Regions from separate parts of the Homo sapiens genome. Here regions 1 and 3 are each linked to region 2. Evidence: promoter capture Hi-C in 16 types of primary human blood cells and fetal thymus (Javierre and others, 2016). All regions are on one chromosome and are shown on one strand. The core of a region is centred on a gene start or on the middle of the fragment in contact, and the rest is flanking DNA. Distances in the headings are between cores, read along the strand shown. Region 1 overlaps TANC1 (tetratricopeptide repeat, ankyrin repeat and coiled-coil containing 1). Region 2 holds the start of BAZ2B (bromodomain adjacent to zinc finger domain 2B). Region 3 has its middle 68 kb from the start of TANC1.

Evidence for each region. Contacts are between HindIII fragments. The CHiCAGO score rates a contact against its expected background, and 5 or more counts as called.
Region 1: a fragment that was not itself captured here is called in contact with the fragment with the promoter of BAZ2B in region 2 in 1 of 17 cell types (erythroblasts); the score reaches 5.1 in erythroblasts.
Region 3: a contact is called between a fragment that was not itself captured here and the fragment with the promoter of BAZ2B in region 2, in 1 of 17 cell types (erythroblasts). The highest score is 5.6, in erythroblasts.

What each region holds. Positions count from the first base shown.
Region 1 is chr2:159,054,108-159,057,895 of GRCh38, reverse strand. All of the region lies in intron 2 of TANC1 (tetratricopeptide repeat, ankyrin repeat and coiled-coil containing 1), which reads right to left. It also overlaps the pseudogene GSTM3P2. Among named protein-coding and RNA genes, the nearest start is that of TANC1, 87 kb to the right of the region's middle. The HindIII fragment of the contact is 1,239 bases long and covers 1,895-3,133 here.
Region 2 is chr2:159,614,071-159,618,058 of GRCh38, reverse strand. BAZ2B (bromodomain adjacent to zinc finger domain 2B) reads left to right here and starts at 1,511. Exons shown (of 37, transcript NM_013450.4): 1 at 1,511-1,817. It overlaps BAZ2B-AS1 (BAZ2B antisense RNA 1), which reads right to left and starts at 2,765. Exons shown (of 2, transcript NR_110588.1): 1 at 2,606-2,765; 2 at 17-2,309. RefSeq lists enhancers at 1,422-1,491, 1,742-1,821, 1,449-1,975, 3,032-3,560. The HindIII fragment of the contact is 3,593 bases long and covers 275-3,867 here.
Region 3 is chr2:158,898,220-158,902,481 of GRCh38, reverse strand. No RefSeq gene overlaps it. Among named protein-coding and RNA genes, the nearest start is that of TANC1, 68 kb to the left of the region's middle. The HindIII fragment of the contact is 4,470 bases long and covers 1-4,139 here.

The DNA.
Region 1 (3,788 bases), core at 1,265-3,764, 560 kb after region 2:
TTACATAGATGTTTAGATATATTAGAGAAAGCAAAAGAATTTCATAAGCCCACCCACTTCAAAACACACCACAGAATCACCTCATCTTCGAAGCCTTCTTCATCTTATTTTAATTGTTTATACACCTGCTTCCTTCACCAGGCTTTGGGCCTCTGAATGGTCAGACCCTGCCTTGCTCCCCACCCCAGCAAAGTATTTGTTTTCCAATTTCAACATCAATGAATGGTTGTGGAGAAACATAATTTTAATCTATAATTTTCAAAGGGAATTATTGTACCTAAAAACAGACTGTTATCCTTTAATAACTTTAAGTAAAATTAATATCCTTCTACAGGCTATGAGCAATGGAGAAACTTGCCCTGGCTCTCCTGGACCAGCAAGTGGCAGAAATTGGGTTACAACCTAATTTTCCAATTAAGGAATGAGTGTTGGGTTAGCAATTGCAGGTTTTCATTCGACATACATCTGTACGTTGCTACCCTGTGCCAAACAACAAGGGACACAAAGGCAAGTACAACTGACAGAGGAGGAAGACAACATGTGGACAAACATGAGCAGGAAGCTAAAAACATTCATGCCTCCATTTTGTCTACAAGGTAAAAACAAGGTAAGAGGTGCAGTGAAGGTTCAGGATAGCCCTGTAGATGAGAGGAAGGCAAGTAAGAGATTAAAAGGACAGCTGGCTGGGCATGGTGGCTCACGCCTGTAATCCCAGCACTTTGGGAGGATCGTTTGAGCCCAGGCCTTTGAGACCAGCCTGGGCAACAGAAGGAGATTCTCAGAAAAACCAAAAACAATAAAACGGACAGCTGAACAGCTCTGATCATCCAAACTAGGCTGCAGACCAGGCCATAACACCCGATTATGAAACTGCTCCTATCCTCAAAGGCTCACAAGTAGCATCATCATATCGTGCAACTCATCTATGGTTCTGGGTTAGTGGAATATTTGCGGGCTGGCACACACCATTTGCCTGCTCCTGTAGTTCACGGATATGTCCTATGAGGAGAAATGGTACACATGCCAGGAAACTCCTATGATTGAAGCCAATGGCTGGATGTGATATTCAAGCTAGACCTGGACTTTCCTAATCTGCCCAACTTCATGGACGGGAAGAACAAGGTCACCCAGAGCAATGCCATCTTGTGCTACACTGCTGGCAAGCACATGTGTGGTAAGACTGAAAAGATTCAAGTGGACATTTTAGAGAACCAAGCAACCAGTTTCTGCACACAACTGATACAGTGCTGTTACAACTCTGACCATGAAAAACTGAAACCTGGCCAGGCGCAGTGGCTCACGCCTCTAATCCCAGCACTTTGGGAGGCTTCTCTTTTCTCGTGGATCACAAGTTCAGGGGATCAAGACCATCCTGGCTAATACGGCGAAACCCCGTCTCTACTGAAAATACAAAAAGTTAGCTGGGCGTGGTGGCGGGCGCCTGTAGTCTCAGCTACTCAGGAGGCTGAGGCAGGAGAATAGCTTGAACCCGGGAGGCGGAGGTTGCAGTGAGCCGAGATCGCACCATTGCACTCCAGCCTGGGCGACAGAGCAAGACTCCATCTCAAAAAAAAAAATAAATAAATAAAATAAATAAAAACCAACCCTGAAACCTCAGTACTTGGAACAGCTACCTGAACAACTGAAACAATTCTCCATGTTCCTGGGAGAAATTCTCATGGTTTGCAGGGGAAAGCTCACCTTTGTGGATTTTCCCATCTATGACGTCCTGGATCAAAAGTGCATGTTTGAGCCCAAGTGCCTGGATGAGTTCCCACATCTTAAGGCTTTCATGTGCCGTTGAGGCTTTGGAGAAAATTGCTGCCTACATGCAGTCTGACTGCTTCTTGAAGATGCCTATCAACAACAAGATGGCCCAGTGGGGCAACAAGCTTTTATGCTGAGCTAGAGGCAGACTTGCACTGCTAGTTTTGTTTCATCCGTCCCTAGGGGGCCTCCACTCTTTTTTGTTCTTTTAAATAAACAGCACTTGGGCTAAAATAAATAAATAAATAAATAAATAAGCTATGCTGTGCAATTCCCTTCTCTGACTCTCAGCCCCAAGAACCATCCAGGGATGGTCCAGAGAATGCAGGATCTGATCAATGATCAGGAGTTCACAGTGCAGGGGCCAGTACAGGAGTGCTCAGAGTGGTGTGCTGTGAAATCAAGGCTGGTCAGGAAGGGAATGAAGCCCTGAGAGGTAGGATAGCCAGAGAGAAAAAGTATGGTGTCTCAAAGAGATCAAAGAACAAACACAGTCGGAATAAATGAATGAGGAAGTTGAAAGAGTCTGGTTCTTTTTAAAGAATTTTTAAAATTTGGATGTGGAACAATTCCAGACAATGATAAAGCCCACAGGATTAGTAAAGGCAAATCTGTGATGTGAACCCAGGCCTGACTTGAAAGCTCAGGCACTGAATAGCTGCCTCCAAAGTCCTCAATGAACTGAGGGTAGGGGGAATAGGGAGGTGATCAGGACAGCACAGAATACACGCCTCAAAGAAAGGGAGGCTTTGCATGAGGATGAAAGTGTAGCAGTTATGGATACCAGCATCACCTCAGGGACCCAGTAGCCATGCAGCTAAAAAGCTCCTGGAGAACCACCTAGGGTTTGAGTATGAACCACAGTCTGATCGTGGTCTCCTCCTCTCACATAACTCAGTAGAAGGCGTGGCTAGGGCCATAGAGTCTTTCTTTGTGTAAGGTTTAGGGCAACCGGAAACCCAAGTCCCAATCCTCCTTATGACAGTTAGCTCCACAACAACCACACTCAGAATTACATTCTCTTTTCCTTTCTCCTTCCTGTTGTTTCCCACTTGTGTCATACAACAGAGCTACAATCCCCAACTTACACTGCCCACCTTCCTGATGTGCAATCGCAACTCCCAGAATACAGGTAGAGGCATTATGTATACAAAGTGATTCTGGACAAGTTGTTATTTCACCAAGAATACTGTTCCCTTTCCTGCTGGACTGGATAATTTCAGGTCTCTTCCACCTGTAGGCATTATAATTTTTAAGGGGGAAACTTTCTTGTTCCTAAGACCACTGTAAGCACAGTACACAATAAACCATCATCACAGATGAAAAAGGAACCCCTCAGAGGAGGCCACTGTATGCGTGATAAGCTTTTACTATGAAAAGAGACCTTGAGGACATTTTCAAAAAGTGTTAAAAGGCACTCAATCAATGCCAGCTGAATGAAATTTGGTATTATAAACCTAAGGAAATTAAAATTTTTAAATTGCACTGGATCTGGCCTCAAAGTGAAGGGTCAGACAGCCTCAAAGATGCCTGTGAAAGGCAGCTATTCATCACAGAATGATCTCTTGCTTATGTAGCTGACAGATGGATCTTTCACTTAATGCCCAGAATATAAGACATCAAAAACGCTCCTCCACTTGCTGAACAAGGTTATAACCTCCCCAGGCCCTAATTTCATTAGGATTGGAGTTCTCAATACCCACGCAGGGTGATTAGAATCACCCACCAGGTGATTCTAATGTGCAGCCAGCACCCCTTATTTACCACTATCCATATGCCTGGCCCTGTTCTAAGCACTTACCATGCATATACTGATTAAATCCTCACAACCACCGTCTGAGGAAGGTACTGTTAATCTCCATTCCACAAAGGCACAGACAAGCTAGTGACTTGCCCAGGGTCACACAACTCAGTGTGCATCCAGGCAGTCTTGATCCCCAGCCTGACCATGCAGTCAGTCTACCAGGCCTCCTTTCAGTTGAAAAGAAGAGAGACCAGCCCCCAGGGAGTGGTGAGAGTCA
Region 2 (3,988 bases), core at 262-2,761:
TAAACTACTACAAAAATAATAATTAAAAACATATCAGCACATTAATTTATTTAGCATCAGTCTCCTGAGACATCATCTTCACTAATTTTTAGCATACATTTTACTCTGTAATGAGCAGCCTTCTTTTCAGATATCCCTATTAGACAGGCAGTATTTCTGCCCTTCCCCCAGTGCTCCTGCATTGCAATCATTGTACTTGCACTTATTATGTTACAAATGACCGAGGTAAGGCTGACATTCTCAGTGCATGCAAAAAGACCGAGTCTGCCAAGCTTTTTTTTTTTCCTAATGAAGCAGCTTTGTGAAATCTCCCCATGTGTTAATACTAATGAAGATCCTCCAGCACAATTAAAATCACAGCCAGTGGCTGAAGAGGAAACATAAAACAATAGCATCTTTTAAGATACATTTATCCACATATGTATAAAATATACATAGATGATCAAATTATTCTCCGATAGCTTAATTTTTACTTACTCTTCATCCTGAAAATTAAATTATGCAATTTTTAATTATATGAACTTTGAGACTTTCTTGTGTTCTGGAGGGAAAAAACGGTACCTCAACGAACTTCTAAAAAAAAAAATACGTATCTTCTTGGCTAATAAAGTGTTATCAAGATTAAGGCTTTTAAAAAAATTGTTTTTAGGAATCTATAGGATGGGGTGCGGGAGGGAATGGGGCCTATTGTATCTTTAGTTTAACTTGATTGGTTGCAGGATTTGGGAATTGGGGTTGGGGGAGTGGAAGGGTAAAAACAAAGTTGGAAGAGATTCTGGGGGTAGACCATAGCATATGACTGCATTTGTAGTTTAAAGGAGCAAAGGGCTACCAGTCTTACTCATAACTTGATTTTTAAAAAGTGTTCAGTGCCTACAATTTGCTATGCTTTTTTTCTAATCTCTCAGAAACTTGAAAAAAAGCTATCGAGATTACCTTTTACAGTGTGTGCATATAACTTTAAAACGACTATTTTAACGTCTTTTATTTAAATTTTATTTTAACTTAGTGCATAAACATTACAGCCAGTTTAACTTGTCCGTGGAAAGGCAGTAGAATTTTACCCCGGGACCGTCTTGCATACTGCTTTTTTTGAGTTTTAACATCCGCAAAATCTTGGCATATTAATTTAGTTGGGTTGTAGAATTCTGAGTTTAGGAACAAAAAAAATTTAGGTGGAGATGGTTGACCTATGCTCCCTACTCTGTAGCTTTTGTTTTTTTAAAAACTAAGTTTTAAATCCCGTTTTCTGTCCTGTCTTCTTTAAAAGCAAAACAAAACATTTTAAGTTTCTTAACTTTTTCCTGGGACAAGGAACGGTGCAAACTCAAAGCTACAGTATTCTTGGAAAGAAGAAGCAACCCCCTCCCTTGGCTCCTTTAGGAGCTGATAGGTCATTTATTATTGGAACTGAAATGGTATAAACAATTCTCTCTCTTTTTTTCCCTTGTTAACAGCAACTTTCATTGTTAGAGAGAGGAGAGAGAGAGAAGCCTTGTTGGTTGACGTCACTTGGTTCATGAAGCCTTCGCCTAGAAGTGAAGCTGCTGAACAAACCTTGAGAAGAATCATCTCCTGCTTCAATCTGCTGCTGGATAGGAACTAATCAGAGAGAGAGAGGCGGAAGACGGAGAAGGAGGGAGTCGAAGGCTTTCCCGATCACAAATCTCACCTCCACTACAACTCTCTTTATACTTTTCTTGCAGAAATAATAATAGAAATAAGGAGGTGGTGGGGTTTCCAAAAATCTTAACCTTCAACCATCTGGGGAAAAGGCAAAAATCCCATCTACCGCAACTCTCAGTTCGAGAGTAAAGGTGAGTTTAAAATCCTCGGGCGTGAGGGGTGCGGGTGAGGATGTAAATTCCCAGTGTTACAAAGCCGGTGGAAACAGCAGCGGAGAAACTGCGCTCGGGCAAGCGGGGGACTCCGGAGTTGCTGCGTGGAGGCGCTCGCCCCGCCGCCCTCTCGCCCTCCGCCGCTGTTTATCCTCGCCGGTCGGTGCGGCTCTTTGTTGTGGTGGCCGGAAGGCTGGGGTGGTTCTCGGGGTCCCGAGTGGAGTTTGGGGGAGGAGGACACGGAGATGTGCCGTCCTGGGTGGGAGGTGGGGGGTGCGGCCTCAGGAGAACGTAAACTTTATTCCTAGAAGCCGGTGCGGGACTTCGCTGGAGTAGGGCCGTGGGTTGTGCTCCCGGCCGGGCAGGCGCTGCCGCCGCGAGTCCGCCGCCTTTGTGCCGGCCGCCCTGGCTTCGCGTCTCCTTCCTCTTCCCCTTCGGCTTCCAGCGCTCAGGTCGCCGCCAACAGTTTTGCTTCTTAAAAAACAACCTCTGTCAGCGTTGCGATGGCCGTTCCTACCCCGGAATATCCGCTGCTCCCCCACTCCCTGCCGGGGTAGTTTCTGGATCACCCCCCACCCCCGTCCGCCTCCTGCTGCCCTTTTTTGCCTCCGCCCCCTCTTCCCTGTCGGACTGACGAGCTGCGTCTGCCACCCCCACTCCCCGGCTTGGGCCTCTAGCTCTCCCGTGTGTAGCTGGAGGCTCTGAGTTTACTGAAGATGAGCGGGGGTGGGGGTGGGGCAGGTGGGATTGGGAAAAGATCTGGATACCTGGGAAGGTCTATGTCAGCACGCAGAAGGTTTGAGGAGCATTGCTTCTCATACAGTAAGGTCTGTGCCTTGGTCTCATGTTTTAGCAGTTCTTCCCCGGGAACGACCGCCAGCTCCCAACTCCTCTGCTTCCCTCTTTTAATCTTCTTGTCGCTACCCCTCCCCCCAGCCCCCGTTCTCTTTCGCGGCTCCCTCCCCTTTAAGTAGTTTCACGAACCCCAGAATTGGGATTTGAGAAGGGGAAGGAAGTGTTTGAAGAGTCAGAGCTGGCTCTGTTGTTTGGGAGATTTTCTCTTCTTTTCTTTCTCCCTCTGTATTTATCTTTTGTCTGTTGCTTCCTTATAAAGAGGGAAGCAGCTGCAGTCCTTGGCCGAGTTGTTGAAATTTATCCCTTTGTGTATATTACAATATCCTCCATTTTTTTTCCTGCCCTCTAAACAACAAGCGTTTCGCCATCTTGGGCAATTTTATTCCCAAGTCTCTCTCTTTTTTATTTTTGAGGAAAGGAAAGAAGTATTAGGAAGTGTGTCTGGATAAGTCTCAAAGTTTAGGGAATGTTCAGGGGGCCCAGTGACGTCATGTAAACTTTACGGAGAAATTTTCCCAAGAGTAAATTTTTTGCTTAATTTTTCTCCTGTTTTATAGGATTGTGTAACTTACAGGTTACTGATAAGTTGTGTGGCTTATTTTTGTGTTTTGCTCTCAAAATCAGTATACGAAGTCTGCGTATTGTATGTTTTGGTAACAGGTGGAAGATTATATGCAAAAAATGGTAAAAAACTTGTGCGTCATTTGTTATTTATCTGGTTTTTGTGTACTTTTTTTTTTAATTTAAAGGTTTCAACTGTTATCTGTAGTCAGTATATTCCCTTTCTTATTTGCTCCACTCTCCCTTATGGATTTTTTGAAAATTAGCTTGGTTAATATTTATGTATGGTTATTTTAGATTATCTGGCTCCCCGTTTCTAATAAAATGTTCTGGGGTTTTCTTTTTCTATTATTTATTTACATTTTGAAAAGAAATGACTATGGAAAATACCTTAAGATAATGGATACTTTAAAATTTAGTAGCAGATATTAAGTCAAACAATTATTGAGTATTTAAGAGGCAGAATTGATTTTAAAAGTTATTTTATAATCGCTAGCTATAAACTCTTTGTCAGCCATTATGAACAGATAAACAAAAACTAGCACTGTTTTAATTTGCTTGTCTAACATAGTTTTTCGCCTCACAAAAGTTGGTTTGGTCACATGACCAAGCTTAATGATACACTGACTAGTATATAAATAAGAGGCACTGTATATTGAATGGGAAAGTGGAATTCTGTCTCCTGTAGTCATTTTCAGTCAGCATATTTACATCTCTTCTAACAAGGACATGAA
Region 3 (4,262 bases), core at 655-3,154, 720 kb after region 2:
CCAACTGCCCTGGCCTCCCAAAGTGCTGGGATTACAGGCATGAGCCACCCCATAGGGCCGCTGTTTCTCAAATGTGCCTTAAGGTAAACAATCAATGACAAAATACCAGTGCCAAGTTTTTATTCCAAGTCTAACAATAATATCATTAGTAATTATAAAAAGAATATTAAAATAGTACTAACAAAAGCATATATTTTACCAAGTGTCAAGCATTGTGCTAATTGCTTATGTGCATTTACTCTTCAACCATGGGACTAATATTGCTAGCTCCACTTTACAGATGAGAAAACTGAGGCCAAGAAAAGTAAATCTGCCCAAATTTGGAGCATGCTCACTATGTGCTATGCAGTCACTGTTCTAATTGAATGATCATAGATACTGTTATTACCATTATTTTACAGATGCTGAAACAGAGGTTAAACACTTTCCCATGGTCACACGGCTGTTAAGAGTCGAGGTAACATTCAAACCTAGTCACTCCAGTCCTACACTCTGAGCACTTCATGTCTAAATTTGTCTAACCAGTTAAATATACACATTTCTCATGGAATTTGGTAACGGTATTTTTTTTTTTTTTTTGAGATGGAGTCTGGCTCTGTCGCCCAGGCTGGAGTGCAGTGGCACAATCTCTGCTCACTGCAAGCTCCGCCTCCCGGGTTCACGCCATTCTCCTGCTTCAGCCTCCCGAATAGCTGGAACTACAGGCGCCCGCCACCTCGCCCGGGTAATTTTTTTTGTATTTTTAGTAGAGACGGAGTTTCACCGTGTTAGCCAGGATGGTCTCGATTTCCTGACCTCGTGATCCAACCGCCTCGGCCTCCCAAAGTGCTGGGATTACAGGTGTGAGCCACCGCGCCTGGCCGGTAACGGTATTTTTATTTTGAGTTTTTATAAAGTGGGGCCTAAATTGTTTTGCCTACACTGGTCATTCTAACCAAATGGCTGTTTATCACTGCAGCACTTAGTCTCAGGAATGTGCTGCCGCCAACTGGATGCTTGGGCTTTTTTTCTGGTCTATACTACCCTCTAGTGGTTGATAGAAAAATTCGATGATAGGCTATTTAATGACAAAGAGAGAAATAGAATGCTGTCCACTAATGAGGACTCCTTTTAAGCATAAGGGTAAGACATGAACCTGCATGTAATAGTATTTGTACTTTTTGTATCTTTTGATTGAGAAAAATACATAAAGACTAAAAGATTCTATGAATTTAGTACCTCATTTATGTGAACGTGTATTTTTATTTTTATTAATCTCAATAGTATACACATACATAAGAAACAAGGTGATATATATCTTTGTGTGTGTATATATACATATGTGCTATATACATGTGTTATACAATATATGTGTTTTATACATATATATGTATGTATGTATGTATATAACATACACCTTATTTGTTTAGCTATAGACAATGCCTGGAGTGCATTGATGGATTTAGAAGCCCCCAAATTAGACTTCCCTCAAACTTCTTTGGCTAGATTTTCAACAAATACCCACTCCTAAACCATTACAGGCAAGGAGAAATTAACTCAAAATTTTAGATTAATTAGTATATTCTCCTGAATTGGGCATAGTCCCCTGGCCTGAGAGGTGGAGATGTGAAGATAATTGGGATTGTCTTTTTTTTTTTTGAGAGAGTCTCACTGTGTCACCCAGGCTGGAGTGCAGTGGCGCAATCTTGGCTCACTGCAACCTCTGCTTCCTGGGTTCAAGCGAGCTTTGTGCCTCAGCCTCCTGAGCAGCTGGGATTACAGGCTGGTGCTGTCCCCATCACGCCCAGCTAATTTTTGTATTTCAGTTTCACCATGTTGGCCAGGCCAGGCTGGTCTGAAACTTCTGACCTCAAGTGATCTGCCCACCTCGGCCTCCCAAAGTGCTGGGATTACAGGCACGAGCCACCGTGCCCGGCCGGGATGGTCTGGACAAGGAAGAAGTCCTGCTGCAGGGGTGGCTGCAGTCTTACCCGAGTCTCCCTCCTGGGCGACCTCAGGAGGTGGGGGACTGGGGGCAGGCCCATGGGAGCATCCTCCCTGTGCAGGCACTAAGGTGGGCATTACCTGAAGGAAACTGAAAAACAATAGTAAAACTAACTAAAAGGTGGCCTGTGCTTTATTATCACCATCAAACAGTGATTCTAAACAGCAATGATAAACTAATTCTCCCTGAACATTTTTCATTTAAGTTCTAAACAAGGACTTTGCTTTCTTTCCATTTTTAACTATGTATGCTTCCAATTAGCACGTTTTCATTATATATCCTTTCACAAACATTCTGTTCTACGTCATGGAAGTCAATTTGGAGAATTTCCAGTTACGCAGTTGGCCTATGACATATGCAGCTACAAGCATTTGTTTCAGGAGTAAGTTCATGATAAATTGTAACTATCAGACCTCAGATTGGGCACAGTTCTACCATGTATTTCTGAGTCTAAAGTGTACATTTGAAATGATCAGTGATAATACAGTGATAGTAAAGACAAAGAAACAGAGCTTGGGTAACTTTAATTCTGTCATTCTACGTGACTTCACAAACATATTAACAAACAGCCAGAATCAACCTAGAACAGTGTACAGTGAAATTGTTTACTGCAGATGGGTACATAGACTTCAAGAAGACCATTAACTCTGCAAAAACAAAATATAAGGAAATGGACATTTCAAAGAAAAATGTCAGGAGAAACAACAAAAGATGCAGGCCTTACATGGCCAGAAGAAATCAAAAAGACAATTTTGAATGCCTGAGTTATTTTCAGCAAGAACTGGACATTCATTCTAAAATAAAGGATCAAATACGATGAACATTTACTATCACTCAGCCACTTTCTCTGATTTTTGCAAAAGAATAACTTGAGAAGTTTTAACTAAATGCAGAAGAAATTTATCATGAATTTCCTGGTGAGGATACTTGAGGGAATTTTTTTTTCACTGCAGAGATGTTTGAAAACTGCTATAATTCATCCTCAAGAAATTACATGGACTGTATTACAATCTCAGATTGACTTTGACATGGAATTTTTATGAATCAATCTCACCTTGATGCTTAAGTTTTTTCTTAACTATTTGTGTTTCTTAACTATTTGTGTTTTTCTTAACTATTTGTGCTTTTCAAAATTAAAGTAATTAAAATATTATTTGTTTAATATGAATGAAGAAGTTTGATTTTCACAGTTCTTGACAAATTTGTAGAAGGCTTGAAAATAGAAACCATAATCCTATTCATTAGTGCAACAGACCAAATGTACGTATGTGTTTGCCTTCTTTTTTTTTATTTTTGAGACAGAGTCTTGCTTTGTTGCCCAGGCTGGAGGCAGTGGTGTAATCACTGCTCACTGAAGCCTTGACCTCCTGGGCTCAAGTGATCCTTTCACCTCAGCCTCCTGAGTAGCTGGGACTACAGAGGCATACCACCACACCCAGCTATTTTTTTTTTTTTTTAGAGATGGGGTCTCACTATGTTGCCCAGGTTGTTCTCCAACTCCTGGGCTCAAGTGATTCTTCCATCTCGACCTCCTAAAGTGATGGGATTACCTCTGTGAGCCACAATGCCTGGCTTGCCTTTTTTTTTTTTTTTTTTTTACATGATTGTGTTTTAAAGGTATCAATCCATTACATGTTTCCCTTTTTGTCCTGTATACTTTTTTATTAAAAAATTTAAAAATTGACTCGATTATATTGTTGGCTGCTGTGGAGGTTACGATCTTGATGAAATCTTAATAGCAGGGAAGCCAGAGGTGGGGATATTTATGAGGTTTCTGGGGTCTATGTTTAAGGTGGGTCTTTCAATGTCAGGCTTGACTGAGATGGGACAAAGTTCATAATAGTTTAGTATTGGTGAATACAGAGAGGATAGGCTTTTGAAATGAGTCTTCAAACAGTAAACAATCATTTGATAATTTCAGTTGAGCTTGCTATTGCTTTGAGAAGATGCTATTTACCTGTGTTATGTGCTGAATGTTTATGTCCCCCCAATTTCATATGTTAGAGTCCTAGTCCTCAATGTCATGGTACAGTTGACCCTTGAACAATGCAAGAGTTAGGTGCACTGATCCCCCACAAAGTAAAAAAAAAAACTGTGTGTAACTTTCGATTCCCCGAAAACTTAACTACTAGTAGCCTACTGTTAACCAGAAGCTTTACCAATAACATAGTCAATTAACACACACTTTGTGTGTTATGTGTACCATATCCTGTATTCTTAACAATAAAGTAACCTAGAGAAAATAAAATATTATTAAGAAAATCATAAGGGTCCAGGT